3 separate regions of the Homo sapiens genome follow, and all the other regions are linked to region 2. Evidence: promoter capture Hi-C in 16 types of primary human blood cells and fetal thymus (Javierre and others, 2016). All regions are on one chromosome and are shown on one strand. Each heading gives the region's core, a stretch centred on a gene start or on the middle of the fragment in contact. The rest is flanking DNA. Distances are from core to core; before and after follow the strand shown.

Region 1 (4,980 bases), core at 2,246-4,745, 520 kb before region 2:
GTGCATCTCCGCTGATGCTCCCAACGCCCACCGATGGAGGCAGGAGCTTCTTTCACTAGGGGAAGGCAGGGACCCTGGGACAAGCGGTCTGAGAAGGAAGTGCTGCCCCACTGATACAGGGTTGTGCGAGGAAGGAGAAAAGGGACAGCCAAATGACAAGGAACATAAAAACTTCCTACATTCGTTTTCCAGAGTTTGTTTGGAGTTTGTCCCTGCCCCCCACCGCCAACTTACTGAAAATACAAGCTATCTCCCCACAGTTCCTAGTAAAGGGTTGCTAAAATTGCTTTAACCCTGAAAACAGTGGTAGGTAAGGGGGTGAAGTAGGGGTGGATGGGGTGAGCCTAAGAGAAATAGGTTGTCTATATTCTGCCTTTTTTTATGCTGCCTTTGTCAGCCCTCTATCATTGCCCCAAGCCCTCCTACGTGAAGTTTTCTGCCTTTCCTTTTTCCTCCATCAAAGCTCTGCTCCTCGTTTGTAAGGATTTTACCTTCAGAAGCTGGTAGGAGCAAGTGGGTCAGTTCCCTCTCTCCTGCCAGTGGGCATGCTGGGCAACCCCTCTGGCCCCCAGGGACAGCAGCACAGGGCCTTGACGCTCCCTCTGCAGGAACCTCCGGCCAGCCTCCCTGTCCTGGTTCTGTTCATAAGATTCCCTACCCGAGTGTGCATGTCTGAAATTCCCTGATCTAAACAGAGGGGGCTGGGAGACCATGACTTAGGGAAACTCAGCCTTGATCTTGGAGCTCCCTCTGCTTTTGAAACAAGGACAGCGTCCTCCTCCCAGGCCAGAGAGCCCTCTATCCAGGGCTCCAGCGGGGAAAGGAGGAATGGGGAATTTCACCGATTGCTTAATGCTATTTTTCAGCCAAAGGGTGTGTTTCTGAGTTTTCGGGAAAGTCAAGTGATTTCTGGGAAAAGGCGGGGATTGGTACCAGGGGAAATAACCAAACCCAGAAAGTCCAGCCCTCCAAATGTGTGTGAATCATGAATTAAGGGAAAGTAGTTATCAGAAATGTAAGTCATCTCTGCTTTAAAGCAAATGTAATGGTTGATAATGACTTAACACCAAGACCCAAGGTGGTATGGCGTGAGGCTTCCTCTTCATAACATCCCTCCACATCCCTTCCAAACATCGAAATTCTACCCCACAACCAAGCCCCCTTTCAGATCCAACCCAGACTCCCTTATCCATAACCCTTGAAGCCAGGTGTGTTTTGAAATTTTATAGATTTTTTTAGGCTATGTAGTCCATGGACCCAATATTAGGTAACACCTCCTCCTCTCCCTCCCTTTATGGACCAGGATAACCCCCTATTAACAAACATTAAGATTTCTGCAGCTAAACACATTGATCTTACGGTAAATGGATAACTAAAGATTACAAATCACATCAGTTCGGGTCAGGTTTTGCTGCCAAATTGAGTTTTAGTCCCAAACTTGAAAACAAACAAACAAAAAACAATAGCCAGGTATTGTGACACACGCCTGTAGTCCCAGCTACTCAGGAGGCTGAGGCAAGAGGATCACTTGTGCCAGGGAGGTCGAGGCTGCAGAGGGCACCACTGCACTCCAGCCTGGGCAACAGAATGAGATCCCATTACAAAAAAAAGACAGAGACTTTGTTTTCAGAGTCCTTTGGATTTTAGAATTGCAGACAAGGGACTGAGGGGCAGTGCCACTCCACAGAGCCTTCCCTGATCTCAGCTCCCCTTTATGCCCCTTTAGTTGGCTTAGCACTGGGCCTGGAGTCAGAAGATAGGCTCATGTCCCAGCTCTGCTCCTCACCAGTGGTGATGTCTTAGGCTCATCACCTAACTTCCTAGTTTCTTTTTTTTTTTAAACCTGGCTCACTATTGACAGACCTAGTTTCTTCAAATATAAAACAGAAATCCTATCAGTTCTGCCTACCCTACATGACTATCAGATGGACCTAATGAAATAATTCGAGTGAACAAGCTTTGCACACTATGGTACCTAATAAATGTGCATGTTAAAAGGAAGAGAATCATGAGCCCGTAAGGTCTCGGAAGACAGGTGCTGGGTCTGATCCGTCTTGGTATTGTCCGCCATGTCTAGCAGTGTCATGCAGAACACAGATGTGTATGCAACCATCTGTGACTCCCCTGGCTGCCCAGCATTCAAACTGCTTTGCCACATTAGAGGAGTTCCCCATGATATCAGTCTTGGGAACAGAGCCGACCTCCCAAGAAAGAAGACACAGGCACAAGAAGTGTGTCACCCCCACCTCCAGCAGCTCTGGAGCAGGCTAATTTGTAATCACCCGAAGGGTTCTTCCTGCCTGCTGCGTAGACAAAACCAATTCACTGAGACCATGGTATTGCAGTAGAGAAAGAGTTTAACAACACAGAGCTAGCCAAGTGAAAGGATGGGAGTTTATTTCTCAAATCAGTCCCCACAAGAACTCAGAGGCTAGGGTTCTTAAGGAGAATTTGGTGGGCGGTAAGAGCAGAGAATGGGTGCTACTGATTCGTTGGGGATAAAATCATAGGAGTGTAGAAAACAGACCTTGTGCACTAAGTCCACCTCTGGGTGGGGGTCACAGGACCAGTTGAGTCATGAATCATTTCAGAATGCAAAAGTCTGAAAAATATCTCAGAAGACCAATATTTGGTTTTACAATAGTGATGTTATCTATAGGAGCAATTGGGGAAGTCACAGATCTTGTGACCTCTGGCCGCATGACTCCTGAGCAGCAAAGGATTATAGAAAGGCAAGCTAGGGGTCAATGGCTGGTCATCGGTTAGCTACACCCACATCTTAGCAAAATTCAAGCCCCTCCCATAATCCTAATCTTGTGGCCTTTCATTAGTTTTACAAAGGCAGGTCCCTGAGCTAGGAGGGGGTTCATTTTAGGGAGGGACTAATATCATCTTTGCTTCAGAGTTAAACTGTAAACTAAATTCCTCCCATGGTTAGCTTGGCCTATGCCCAGGAATGAGTGAGGACAGCCAGCCTGTGAGGGTAGAGGCAAGATGGAGTCACCCATGCTAGACTTCCCTCACTGTCATCATCTTTGCAAAGGCAGTTTCACATGCACACACGTTCCATTCATCAGAGGCCCAGGCTTTCAATCCAGAGCCAGTAATGCCAGGAAGCAGGGACCCTAGAGCCTGTAGGGACAGTGGTGGCCACAGCAAGATCACAGAGGAGGTAGAGTTCTCAGCAGCACCCAGCATCCAGCCCCAGTGGGTAAGCATTGCAAGCCGAAGCATCCAGGCCATGGTCAAAGAAGTGGCAGCAGCGGCAGCCAGGTTCTGACCATTGTCCCTGCTGGGAAGCTTCCACAATGGCTCTGTAGCTCCCCTGGAATTTCCATGAGCAATCCAGGGTCCCTTTAATAAATTCATCTTCTGCTAAACTCAGCCAGAGTTGGTTTCTACTGCTTGCAACTAAAAATAATGGCTGATACAACACGCTCAGTGAGTATCTGAGGATTGGTTGATTGAATGTGCCAAAGTGAATTCAAACCATTCATTACCTTTCATTTTAGCCGTGTGACCTTGAAAAAGTTACTATGCCTCTCTGAGCTCCAGCTTTATCAGGTGTAAAATGGGAATAATAGCACCTACTTCAGACACAGCTATCACTGTCAGGGCCCATTGTGGCCAAGATTAAACAAAATAACGTATGCTAAGCATTCAGCATATACCTGGTACTCAGTAAGCTTTTAACAAATAACAAACCATATTAACTTCTCCAAACACCAAACACGGCAGCAGTAGCAGCAGCTTCCTCCCCATCAAGAGCATGCTTCAGTTAATACCAAGGAAAAGAGGACGCCTTATCAATGTGTCCAGGGTTCCTTCTCCTTTTCCTTGGAGCTCAACACTGCCCGATCTTGCCAGAAAAGTTAGACTCTCCTATCCTCACCTGTGTTTTATGTTCATTTCTGCAATTTTGCCACGAAATTGAAATACATTGCCAGGAGCAGTGGCTCACACCTGTAATCCCAGCAACTCAGAAGGCTGAGGCGGGAGGATCGCTTGAGGCTGGGAGTTCAAGACCAGCCTAGGCAACATAGGGAGACCTCATCTCTACAAAAAAGTTTAAAAATTAGCCATCCTGTGGTCCCAGCTACTCAGGAGGCTGAGAGGCAGGAGGATTGCTTGAGCCCAGGAGTTCAAGCCTGCAGTGAGCTATGACCACAGCATTGCACTTCAGCCTGGGTGCTCCGTTTCCCACCTCAAATTTCATTGGTCAGGCATAGTGGCTCATGCCAAAGTGCTGTAATCCCAGCACTTTGGTAGACCAAAAAGAGAGGATCACTTGATGCCAGGAGTTCAAGACCAGCCTGGGGAACATAGCAAGATTTCATCTCTACAAAAAGTCAAAAAATTAGTCAGGCATAGTGGCACGCACTTGTAGTCCCAGCTACTCAGGAGGCCAAGGGAGGAGGATAACTTGAGCCCAGGATTTTGAGGCTGCAATGAGCTATGATCACACCACTGCACTCCAGCCTGGGCAACAGAGTGAGACCCTGTCTCAAAAATAAATAAAATAAAATTTCATGCAGCCATGTTATCTAAGTAGCTATCGGAGATCCACAATGAGATTAAATGATGGTATTAAGAAGCTCCAACAAGGGATTGCCAACAATAAAGGTTTTGAACAACAAATAACCCTCCCATTTTCAAATTTGAACAACAAATAACCCTCCCATTAATCAAACTCCAAAATTAAAGTTCAAATCCCATTGCAAACTGAAACTATGACATTAAAGTCAAAAGTAATTGAAGCCCAAAGTGTCTATGTTAAAGTCACAAAACTATCAGTTCCAATTTGTGTTCTGTTTAATCCCAGCTAGTGGGTTTCCAATCCCTGGGCAGAGCTGTGGTCCCTTCCGAAGCTGCGGCCTGGGCTGGAACAGGTTAGTTCCTCCAAGGCTTCAAAGACTGAGTTCTGAGGCAAACCTTCCATGAGTCTGTTTTTAAAATTCCAGAAAGTTAATGAGACACAAG
Region 2 (4,974 bases), core at 2,193-4,692:
GCCAGCCCCAGCGTCAAAGGTGGAGGAGTGGGTGTCGCTGTTGAAGTCAGAGGAGACCACCTGGTGCTCAGTGTAGCCCAGGATGCCCTTGAGGGGGCCCTCCGACGCCTGCTTCACCACCTTCTTGATGTCATCATATTTGGCAGGTTTTTCTAGACGGCAGGTCAGGTCCACCACTGACACGTTGGCAGTGGGGACACGGAAGGCCATGCCAGTGAGCTTCCCGTTCAGCTCAGGGATGACCTTGCCCACAGCCTTGGCAGCGCCAGTAGAGGCAGGGATGATGTTCTGGAGAGCCCCGCGGCCATCACGCCACAGTTTCCCGGAGGGGCCATCCACAGTCTTCTGGGTGGCAGTGATGGCATGGACTGTGGTCTGCAAAAGGAGTGAGGCCCTGCAGCGTACTCCCCACATCACCCCTCTACCTCCCTCCCCACCTTGAAAGGAAATTATGGGAAAGCCAGTCCCCAGAACCCCCAACCCCAGGGTTGCACGCAGCCCCGGCAGGGAGGAGCCAGTCTTGGATGAGAAAGGTGGGAGCCTCAGTCCCATTCCCCAGCTCTCATACCATGAGTCCTTCCACGATACCAAAGTTGTCATGGATGACCTTGGCCAGGGGTGCTAAGCAGTTGGTGGTGCAGGAGGCATTGCTGCAAAGAAAGAGGGAGCGGGGCGCAAGTCAGGGGAGCGTGTCCATAGGGTGCCAGGCTGGCCGCTTCTCCACGGGCCCTGCCTTCCTCACCTGATGATCTTGAGGCTGTTGTCATACTTCTCATGGTTCACACCCATGACGAACATGGGGGCATCAGCAGAGGGGGCAGAGATGATGACCCTTTTGGCTCCCCCCTGCAAATGAGCCTACAGCAGAGAAGCAGACAGTTATGAACCCGGGTCCTGCCTTTGCAGGGCTGAGTCAGCTTCCCCTCCCGCGGGCCCTCCTGCACTCACCCCAGCCTTCTCCATGGTGGTGAAGACGCCAGTGGACTCCACGACGTACTCAGCGCCAGCATCGCCCCACTTGATTTTGGAGGGATCTCGCCTATGGGGGTGGGGGGGAGATGGGGACAGGACCATATTGAGGGACACAAGGTTACCATATACCCAAGGGAGCCACACCATCCTAGTTGCCTCCCCAAAGCACATTTCTTCCATTCTGTCTTCCACTCACTCCTGGAAGATGGTGATGGGATTTCCATTGATGACAAGCTTCCCGTTCTCAGCCTTGACGGTGCCATGGAATTTGCCATGGGTGGAATCATATTGGAACATGTAAACCTGGGGGAATACGTGAGGGTATGAAGGGGCTGCCCATCAGCCAGGTGGCTCCTCCCACACCAGCTTTGGGGCTCACCATGTAGCACTCACCATGTAGTTGAGGTCAATGAAGGGGTCATTGATGGCAACAATATCCACTTTACCAGAGTTAAAAGCAGCCCTGGTGACCAGGCGCCCAATACGACCAAATCTAAGAGACAAGAGGCAAGAAGGCATGAGGAGGGGAGGCTCCTCCAGAATATGTGAGCAGCCCTAGGCCACCTCCCCATTAAGAGGGCGAATGCAGCATCTCCTTACCCCCAGGAGGGCCCAAGAGGTTGAATTTTATCTCCCTTGAGCTTCCCTGCCAGGCTGGCCTGGCTTAAGGCATGGCTGCAACTGAAGGCTCCAGGGCTGCCCAACACCCCCAGTCATACGAAGCCCTTCCAGGAGAAGCGGCCATGTGGGGCACTGCCACCCACAGTCTGGGCACAAGCTTTGTACATGGTATTCACCACCCCACTATGCCACCCCAGGAATGCTTGCTGCTGCCTAGCTCAGCTGCACCCTTTAGGGAGAAAACGCTTGTACACTCAGCATCATCAAACTCAAAGGGCAGGAGTAAAGGTCAGAAATTAACTGGACAGGGCAAGCCCACCCCTTCTCTAAGTCCCTCCTACAAAAGGGACAGAGACTGGGGCGGGTGGGAAGAGGGGAAGCTGTATTTTAACCCCCTAGTCCCAGGGCTTTGATTTGCCAAGTTGCCTGTCCTTCCTAGCTCTTTTCCAGAAATCAGGAGTGGGAGCACAGGTAAGTGCATGTGTGTGGGGAGAAGGGATGGGAGAGAGCCCCAGCCCAGGCCCCCAGCTACAGAAAGGTCAGCAGCTATATTTAACCTCAGACCAGGGTGCGGTGGGAGATCTGGTTTCCGGAAGACGGAATGGGGAGAAGGGCAGGTTCCCCGAGGCGCCCAGACACCCAATCCTCCCGGTGACATTTACAGCCTGGCCTTTGGGGTCGGGTCAACGCTAGGCTGGCAGGGGAAGGGCGGGGCCGTGAGGTGAGCCGGCGCTGCAGGAAGGGGCCACCACCAGAGGGGCCATTTTGCGGTGGAAATGTCCTTTTCCAACTACCCATGACTCAGCTTCTCCCGGCTTGGCACCATGCCACAGCCACCACACCTCTGCGGGGAGGGGACACAAGAGGACCTCCATAAACCCACTTCTTTGATTTACCAGAGAATAATCTAGGAAAAGCATCACCCGGAGGAGAAATCGGGCCAGCTAGCCTCGCTCCACCTGACTTCCCCGCCACACGCGACTCCACCCATCGAGGCAGGAGCGCAGGGTTAGTCACCGGCAGGCTTTCCTAACGGCTGCCCATTCATTTCCTTCCCGGTTGCAACATGGCGGCCGCTCTACCGCAGGCGCAGCATCCGGACAGGGATGCACCCGCTGCGCACTAGCATCCCGGGGCCTGCGGTGCCGGAGGCCGTGGGGGAGGGGCTCCTCTGCGACACGTGACCCCGCAGAGCGCGAAAGGAAAGAAAGCGTCCCCCACCTAGGGGTCCGGGTCGGGATCTCGGGCGGGAGTAGGGACCTCCTGTTTCTGGGGACTAGGGGAAGGAGGCTCCGGGCAGATGGCGCCGCAAGGGCGGAGCTGCACAGGGCGCCACAGCCTGGGTGCGGGGCTCCGCCAGGTCCGAGCGCTGACCTTGAGCTCTCCTTGCGGGGAACAGCTACCCTGCCCCCATACGACTGCAAAGACCCGGAGCCCGCAAGGCTCGTAGACGCGGTTCGGGGGCGGTCGCAGCCCAGGGCCCCCCAGCCACCCGCGAACTCACCCGTTGACTCCGACCTTCACCTTCCCCATGGTGTCTGAGCGATGTGGCTCGGCTGCGCGGAGGGAGAGAACAGTGAGCGCCTAGTGGCCCCGGCCGACACACACGCCTCCCCTCCCCTCCCCCACCAGGCCTCCATGCCCAGCCCGCGCCGCATCACGTCCTCCGCCCGCCCCTGCAATGCGGAGGCCGCCCGGGCCCACCCCGCAGCGGCGCGAACACATCCGGCCTGCGCCCGCCCCTGCCGCCTTCAGGCCGTCCCTAGCCTCCCGGGTTTCTCTCCGCCCGTCTTCACCTGGCGACGCAAAAGAAGATGCGGCTGACTGTCGAACAGGAGGAGCAGAGAGCGAAGCGGGAGGCTGCGGGCTCAATTTATAGAAACCGGGGGCGCGGCGGCAGGCGGTGACTCGGACCCCGCCTCCCGCCAGGCTCAGCCAGTCCCAGCCCAAGGTCTTGAGGCCTGAGCTACGTGCGCCCGTAAAACCGCTAGTAGCCGGGCCCTACTTTCTCCCCGCTTTTTTTTTTCCGCAGCCGCCTGGTTCAACTGGGCACGCACCGAGCGTGTGGGCCCCGACGTAGGGGGGAAGGGACTGAGATTGGCCCGATGGGAGGTGATCGGTGCTGGTTCCCAGGACTGGACTGTGGGCAGCAGGACACTAGGGAGTCAAGGACGGGGACCCTTACACGCTTGGATGAAACAGGAGGACTTTGGGAACGACTGAGATGGGGAATTGGAGCCGGAGCCCAGCACCGCTCGCGGCTGCACGCGGCCTGCCCCCTCCCCTTTCTTTCTTTCAAAGGCTGAGAGGCGGGAAAGTTGGGGAACTTCTCCTCGAGGCTCTGCGGTAGTGACACCGGACTGCTCAGGCAAAGGCCTAGGAGGGGCCCATGGGCCTCGGGCGGGGGCCCGTGGTTCCTTCCCAGCCCCCACTTCCCCCTCCCCATCTCCTGGCTCCTGGCATCTCTGGGACCGAGGCCTGGGCTGGGCACTGGGCACTGGGCACTGGGGGCCTGGAGAGGAAGGAGGCTCGGGAGGCGGCTTGAGGGGGAGGGGGAGGTTTCTGCACGGAAGGTCACGATGTCCTGCAGCCCTGTAGCCTGGACCTGATAATTAGGGCAGACAATCCCGGCCCTGTGTGCACCAGCGGCTCTCTCCGGGCTGGGGCCCCAGGCGGAGGACAGGATGGCTGGTGGGGGCCCAGAGGCCTCCCACAAAGGCACTCCTGGAAACCTGTGGGCTGTGCTGCCTAGGGAGAGAGACAGTGTGCCTTTCATTCCATCCAGCCTGGGGCGAAGAGCGGGACGTGAGGGCGGAAGTCCCTCCCCGCCCTGGGACGTGCAGGCGAGCCAGGAGCCAGGGACTCCCTTTCACTGGCTGCGCCGGGGGATATTGAGGGCAGGGTGAGTCAAGAAGAGGGAAAAAGTGGGAAAAGAGGTCTTGGGCACACGGTGGGAACAGGTCCCCTGCCCCCTCCCACAGGGGATCCATTCTTCTGGTAGGAGGGCAGAGGGCCAGGTTTGTGAGTGTGGGATGGGAGGGTGCTGAACACTTGTAAGGAAGGGGGTGGGGTGGGGTGGCCTTGGCCCATCAGCAGGTGCATGGGAGGGGGATCCCGGGCCTCTTTGCTGGCCCAGCATAACCTGACACCAGCCCCCTGCCCTTCTAGCTAAAAGCCGGTTGCTAAGTTTAGCCTGCCTGGTGATAATCTTTGCTTAAAAAGCACCCACAGGACTCCAGTCCCTGACCCTGCCTTTCTGGGATTGCCTTTCCTGCTGGGACCCAGAGCCAGGCTGTGTCCTCGTCTGGCTGCCACTGGCATGGTTGGTGCGGGCTTTTCACAATGACCACCCAGAGCAGAGTAGCAAGAGCAAGGCAAGAA
Region 3 (4,890 bases), core at 2,380-4,879, 550 kb after region 2:
TTTTATTCTTTTCCCTGCCTTGGGCAGGCCTTAAGCTTCCTGGGAAATGAAAATCCCCAGCGGAGGAGGTTGGACACCTGCTTTTGGTCATCTGTTGTGTGTTACCCATTCTCAGGATAGTTGGAAAATTGTGTGATTTATTCTTGAGTTTAAATATCTGAGGTCTGCGTTTAAAAGGAGAGAAAAAAGAACACTGAAACATATACAGAACATGACTCTCTCCTTCCGCATCCCCTCATGTCTGCCAATTCGACCCCCTGCCCCAGCCCTCCGAGGCCAGCGCCCTGGGCCCCTCCCTCCACCTTCCCAGCTGGAGTGGCAGCCGCTGTGTCTTTTCTGGTTTTTATTCCTAGTCCTTCCCTTTTCCGTCCTGCATGCTGTCGCCAGGGTTGTCTTTATTTAGCTCTTCTCTGTGAGGCAGGGCCTCCTCCATTGTCTTCAGCCACCTGCCTCACCTGTGATGCCGGGCACTGCGGGAGTGTTCCTTCGTCTGTGCCTTTGTTAGCTGTTTCCCACCTGGAATTCCTCCTCCTTTCCCCTTTGCCCAAGTCTTCCTGTGCTTCATAGGTGCACCCTTGTGAGACTCTCTGGAGTGCCCAATCTTAGTGGACTCTCCTTTTGCACTCTTACTGCTCTTTTATTTTTTATTTTTACAAATAGCTTTATTGAGATATAATTTACATGCCACAAACAGCACATATTTAAAGTGTACAATTTGATAGGTTTTGACATATGTACACACCTATAAAACCATTGACATAACCAAGATAATGAATTTCCATCCCCCAAAGGTTAGCTTATGCCCTTTTAAATATATCCCTCAACCCTAGACAACTACTGGTCTGCTTTCTGTCACTATAGATTCGTTTACATTTTCTGGAATTTCACATAAATGGAATCATGCCTACGCACTTCTTTTCTGCCTGGCTTCCTTCACCCAGCATAACGCTTTTGGGATTCATCCATGATGCTGTCTGTTTTGATAGTTTTCTCCTTCTCATTGCTAGGTGGTATTCCACGGTGTGTGTGTATCACAATTTATTTTTCTCATTCAGATTTTCACGAATGAGTCTTATTTCCTCAACCTGACTGTCAGCCATTCGAGGGCTAGGATGGTGTGTTCAGACCTGCCCACGATGGGCACTGTGTCTGTTGATGAGAAGCAGTTGTGCTGCAAGAGGCTAGGCCTGTGGTGTCTGGGGCCAGAATGCTAAGTTCGAAGCCTGGATGTGCCACTTGGTCAAATTTCTTAACTTCTTGGTGTCTCAGTTTCATTATTTGTAAATATAGATACTACTACTTATCTGGTAGTGTTATTATTAGGAAAATAAAGTACATAAATGTAAAACTCTTAGAAAAATATCTTGAACATATTTATTATTAGTTACCTGTGGGAGGCAGCAGAGCATGGTGGTTTAAAACCATGGATTTGGGCCGGGCATAGTGGCTCACACCTGTAATCCCAGCACTTTGGGAGGCTGAGGCAGGTGGATCACTTGAGGTCAGGAATTCGAGACCCAGCCTGGCCAACATGGTGAAATCCTGTCTCTACTAAAATACAAAAATTAGCTGGGTATGGTGGCACATGCCTATAGTCCCAACTATTTGGGAGGCTGAGGCAGGAGAATCACTTAAACTCGGGAGGCAGAGGTTGCAATGAGCCGAGATCATGCCACTGCACTGCAGTCTAGGCGAGAGAGTGCGACTCTGTCTCAAAACAAACAAACAAACAAACAAACAAAAACCAAAACATAAAATAACAAAGAAACAAACCATGGATTTGGATTCAAATCCTCACTCTGTCGCTGTGCCTGTGGGAACCTAGCAGGTGCCTTAGCTTTCTCATTGGAAAAGTGAGGGCAGTGGTAAAACATATCCTCACCGTAGGACTGCAGTGAGGATTACATGAGTGATTTAAATAAAGTCCTCAACACAGTGGCACACAGCAGGTGGCATCTGAATGTTAGCTGCTATCATTTATTGAGTGAGTGAAAGGTGTCAAGGGCAGGACCAGAGGGGTTAATCCTGAAGGAGGGCAGGGCACTTTGGGGGAAGGGGGCCTTACTTGTGGGTATTTGATCTTCCTTCTTAGCTGACTGATTGCTGACTGTGGAAGTAATAAGTAAGACCTTCTTGACCTGGGAACTTCTTAGAGGCCTTTGAGCTACTGGATAAGAATGTGTTTCTTCAGGGGCAATTTCACTTGAATTTAATTTTAAGTTTAAATTTAACTTTATGGCTGAATCCAGAGGGAGACTGAGTCCTGGCTCTGCTTCTTATTAGTGGAGCTCTTTGCTGTGTACCCTGTGCTAATCACAGTTTCTCACTCCTTACAACAGTCCTGCAAGGCAGGCTTGAGTACGCTCATTTTACAGGTGAGGAAACTGAGGCACAGCGGAATGCAGCCTTTGTTAGAGTTCAGGAGTTCCTGACTTCAAAGCCTTGTGCTGTGGGGCTGTGTGTACCTTCGAGAAGGCTGCTCTCTGCCCTGGGCCGTCTCCCATTTGAAAAATCAGAGAACTGCACTCAGGCCTCTAAAGTCACTGCGGGCATCAAGAATGTGATGCTTTCAAGAGTTTTGCTGTCCTCCCCACCGCTCTTCCTACCCTATTGTCTGAAGTCAATTTCAGAAATAAATGGATTTTTTTCCCCAAGCAACAACCCAATTTCTCCTTTGGCTTGAGAAATGACTAGCAGTGCGATCCAAGAACTCTCATTTTTCTTTCTTTGCTTGGTTTTAGCACTGCCAACAGAGAAGGCTGTAGTGAAAATTTCCGCATGTTAGTTTACAAAGCAATGTGGCAACCACCTTTCTGAAAGCCATTAGAACCTCACAACCTCCTTTCAGCCTGCTTTTGTTTGCCTGTGAGGCTCTGTCAGAGGGCTGGGTCAGGGACTGGCCCTTGCCGGAGGCAGGGAGAGCTGACCTCTGTGAATTCTGGGCTTCGTACCTAGAATGTCCTGTGCCCTTTCTGAACCTCGCTTTGCCCTCAGTTCCTGGAAGCCTGGGTCCCGGACCACCAGCCCTGTCAGATCTGCACATGCCTCAGCGGGCGGAAGGTCAACTGCACAACGCAGCCCTGCCCCACGGCCAAAGGTGAGAGTCCTCCCCTCCCTGGTGCCTTCATGGAGGAACAAGGGCCCCTGCAAGGCCCCCCAGCCACCCATCTTCACCTCTGGCAGAGCAGACTCAAACACTGGCACCTAGAGTCCTAGAGTGGGTGGGCTTCCTTGCCCAGCCTGCATTTCCCATCACTGGGCCTGGGAGCCCCATTCTGCACCTGGGGTCGACATTCTCAGATTAACCCTCGCCTCTGGTCCCCAGCAACGGTCAGACTTAAGAGTCCCCTGGAGGGTAAATGTGAGGGTGTCAACAGGAACATGGGGACACTCATCTGTCAGAGGTCCCGTGGCCTGGATCCTTGTGGGATGACCGTACAGAACTCCTACTAGTTTTCAGTGAGCAAGAACATTTCAAATCCCTCTGAGGCTGTCCCACCACTAATTTCTCTGACTTTTGTGGCCGTTCCTCTCCTCTAGCTCCCACGTGTGGCCTGTGTGAAGTAGCCCGCCTCCGCCAGAATGCAGACCAGTGCTGCCCCGAGTATGAGTGTGGTATGTGTCCCACCAGGGGGATGTCTCCAGGGCCCAACCCTAGCCCCAGGGGGCACCACGTTGAAGGTGCTGAAAGGTGTCTCTGTTCTCAGGCACAGGGTGTGTGAAAGGAGGTGGGTAAGGACCGACTGGATACTCCAAAAAAGTGGAAAGGGTTACCTCTGGAGAATAGGATTTGCTTCCTAGAAGAATCTACTGTAAATTACTAAACACAGGTTTGACAGGATTAATACAAGAATGGGGTGATTACTGGGGACTATGGAGATATACTGAAGAAAAGGTCATGCCAAAGCAACCCATTTTCATTTTCAATAAGATTTTGAGGCTGCTAGATATAGAGAAGACCACACACTGGGCACCTTGAGTTCAGCAGGTTGTTTGCTAGAGGTTTTCATGCTAGCCTTGCAGGCTGCTCTGTGAATAGTGGGCTGAATAATGGTATAAGTCCGTGAATTCAGAGCTGATGGAATTACGGTTAGCATGGCAGGAAATCATTAGTGCCTTTGTCCCAGTCCTGTCCAGTGTGTTTATTGCTTGTACAGATGAAGACCTAAAGCACAGGCTTGTACAATTTGCAGTGATGCAGATATTGAAGGGAGAGCAGATAGATCAGGGGACAGTCCAAGGAACTAAAAGAAAATCATATAATCGGAGAAACTTATTTGTACTCATGAAATTGATCAGAAATAAATAGAAGTCCTGTAGGGGAGGGAGATGTGGCTTGAGAACAATTAATGTAAAGGAGGTCTTAGAATGTTAGCAGTAGAGAGAACTAGAGGGATCATTTACTTCAAGCCCCTCATTTTATAGACATTACTAGTCTCCTACAATGTGCCGGGCACTTTGCCCTTATTATTTTGTGAACTCCTCAGACTGATCCTATAAGGTAGAGTTCCCACCTTCCAGAAGAAGAAACAGGTCTAGAGGATCCAAGTTGACTTGGCTGAGATGTGAAAGCCCTAGTGGATGATAAGAATAATCAGTATGTGACTTGGATTGATCTATCTGTCTGTCTGTCTGTCTGTCTATCTATCTATCTATCTATCTATCTATCTATCTATCTATCTATCCATCTATCCATCCATCCTATGTATTTATCATCTGTCCTATCTCTATCTAACCTATGTATCTATTTATCATCTATCCTGTCTCTATCTATCCTATGTATCTATCATCTATCCTATCTCTATCTAAGCTATATATCTATTTATCATCTATCCTCTATCATCTATCTATCTATCTATCTATCTCTATTGTATCTAGTTATCTATCCTA

Evidence for each region. The method cuts DNA at HindIII sites, captures the fragments that hold promoters and counts their contacts. A CHiCAGO score of 5 or more calls a contact.
Region 1: a contact is called between a fragment that was not itself captured here and the fragment with the promoter of GAPDH in region 2, in 1 of 17 cell types (activated CD4 T cells). The highest score is 5.2, in activated CD4 T cells.
Region 3: a fragment that was not itself captured here is called in contact with the fragment with the promoter of GAPDH in region 2 in 1 of 17 cell types (naive CD8 T cells); the score reaches 5.0 in naive CD8 T cells.

What each region holds. Positions count from the first base shown.
Region 1 is chr12:7,056,389-7,061,368 of GRCh38, reverse strand. C1S (complement C1s) reads right to left here and starts at 651. Exons shown (of 12, transcript NM_001734.5): 1 at 492-651. RefSeq lists enhancers at 63-562, 563-1,064. The HindIII fragment of the contact is 386 bases long and covers 3,303-3,688 here.
Region 2 is chr12:6,532,985-6,537,958 of GRCh38, reverse strand. It overlaps GAPDH (glyceraldehyde-3-phosphate dehydrogenase), which reads right to left and starts at 3,442. Exons shown (of 9, transcript NM_002046.7): 1 at 3,390-3,442; 2 at 3,098-3,149; 3 at 1,366-1,465; 4 at 1,169-1,275; 5 at 949-1,039; 6 at 743-858; 7 at 569-650; 8 at 1-375. The coding sequence starts at 3,126. GAPDH-DT (GAPDH divergent transcript) reads left to right here and starts at 3,552. Exons shown (of 2, transcript XR_002957397.2): 1 at 3,552-4,495; 2 at 4,816-4,974. RefSeq lists enhancers at 567-1,340, 2,889-3,662, 3,663-4,436, 4,437-4,974 and silencers at 3,151-3,290, 4,011-4,260. The HindIII fragment of the contact is 4,237 bases long and covers 1,753-4,974 here.
Region 3 is chr12:5,983,770-5,988,659 of GRCh38, reverse strand. It overlaps VWF (von Willebrand factor), which reads left to right. Exons shown (of 52, transcript NM_000552.5): 39 at 2,995-3,097; 40 at 3,541-3,615. Among named protein-coding and RNA genes, the nearest start is that of ANO2, 41 kb to the right of the region's middle. The HindIII fragment of the contact is 7,184 bases long and covers 38-4,890 here.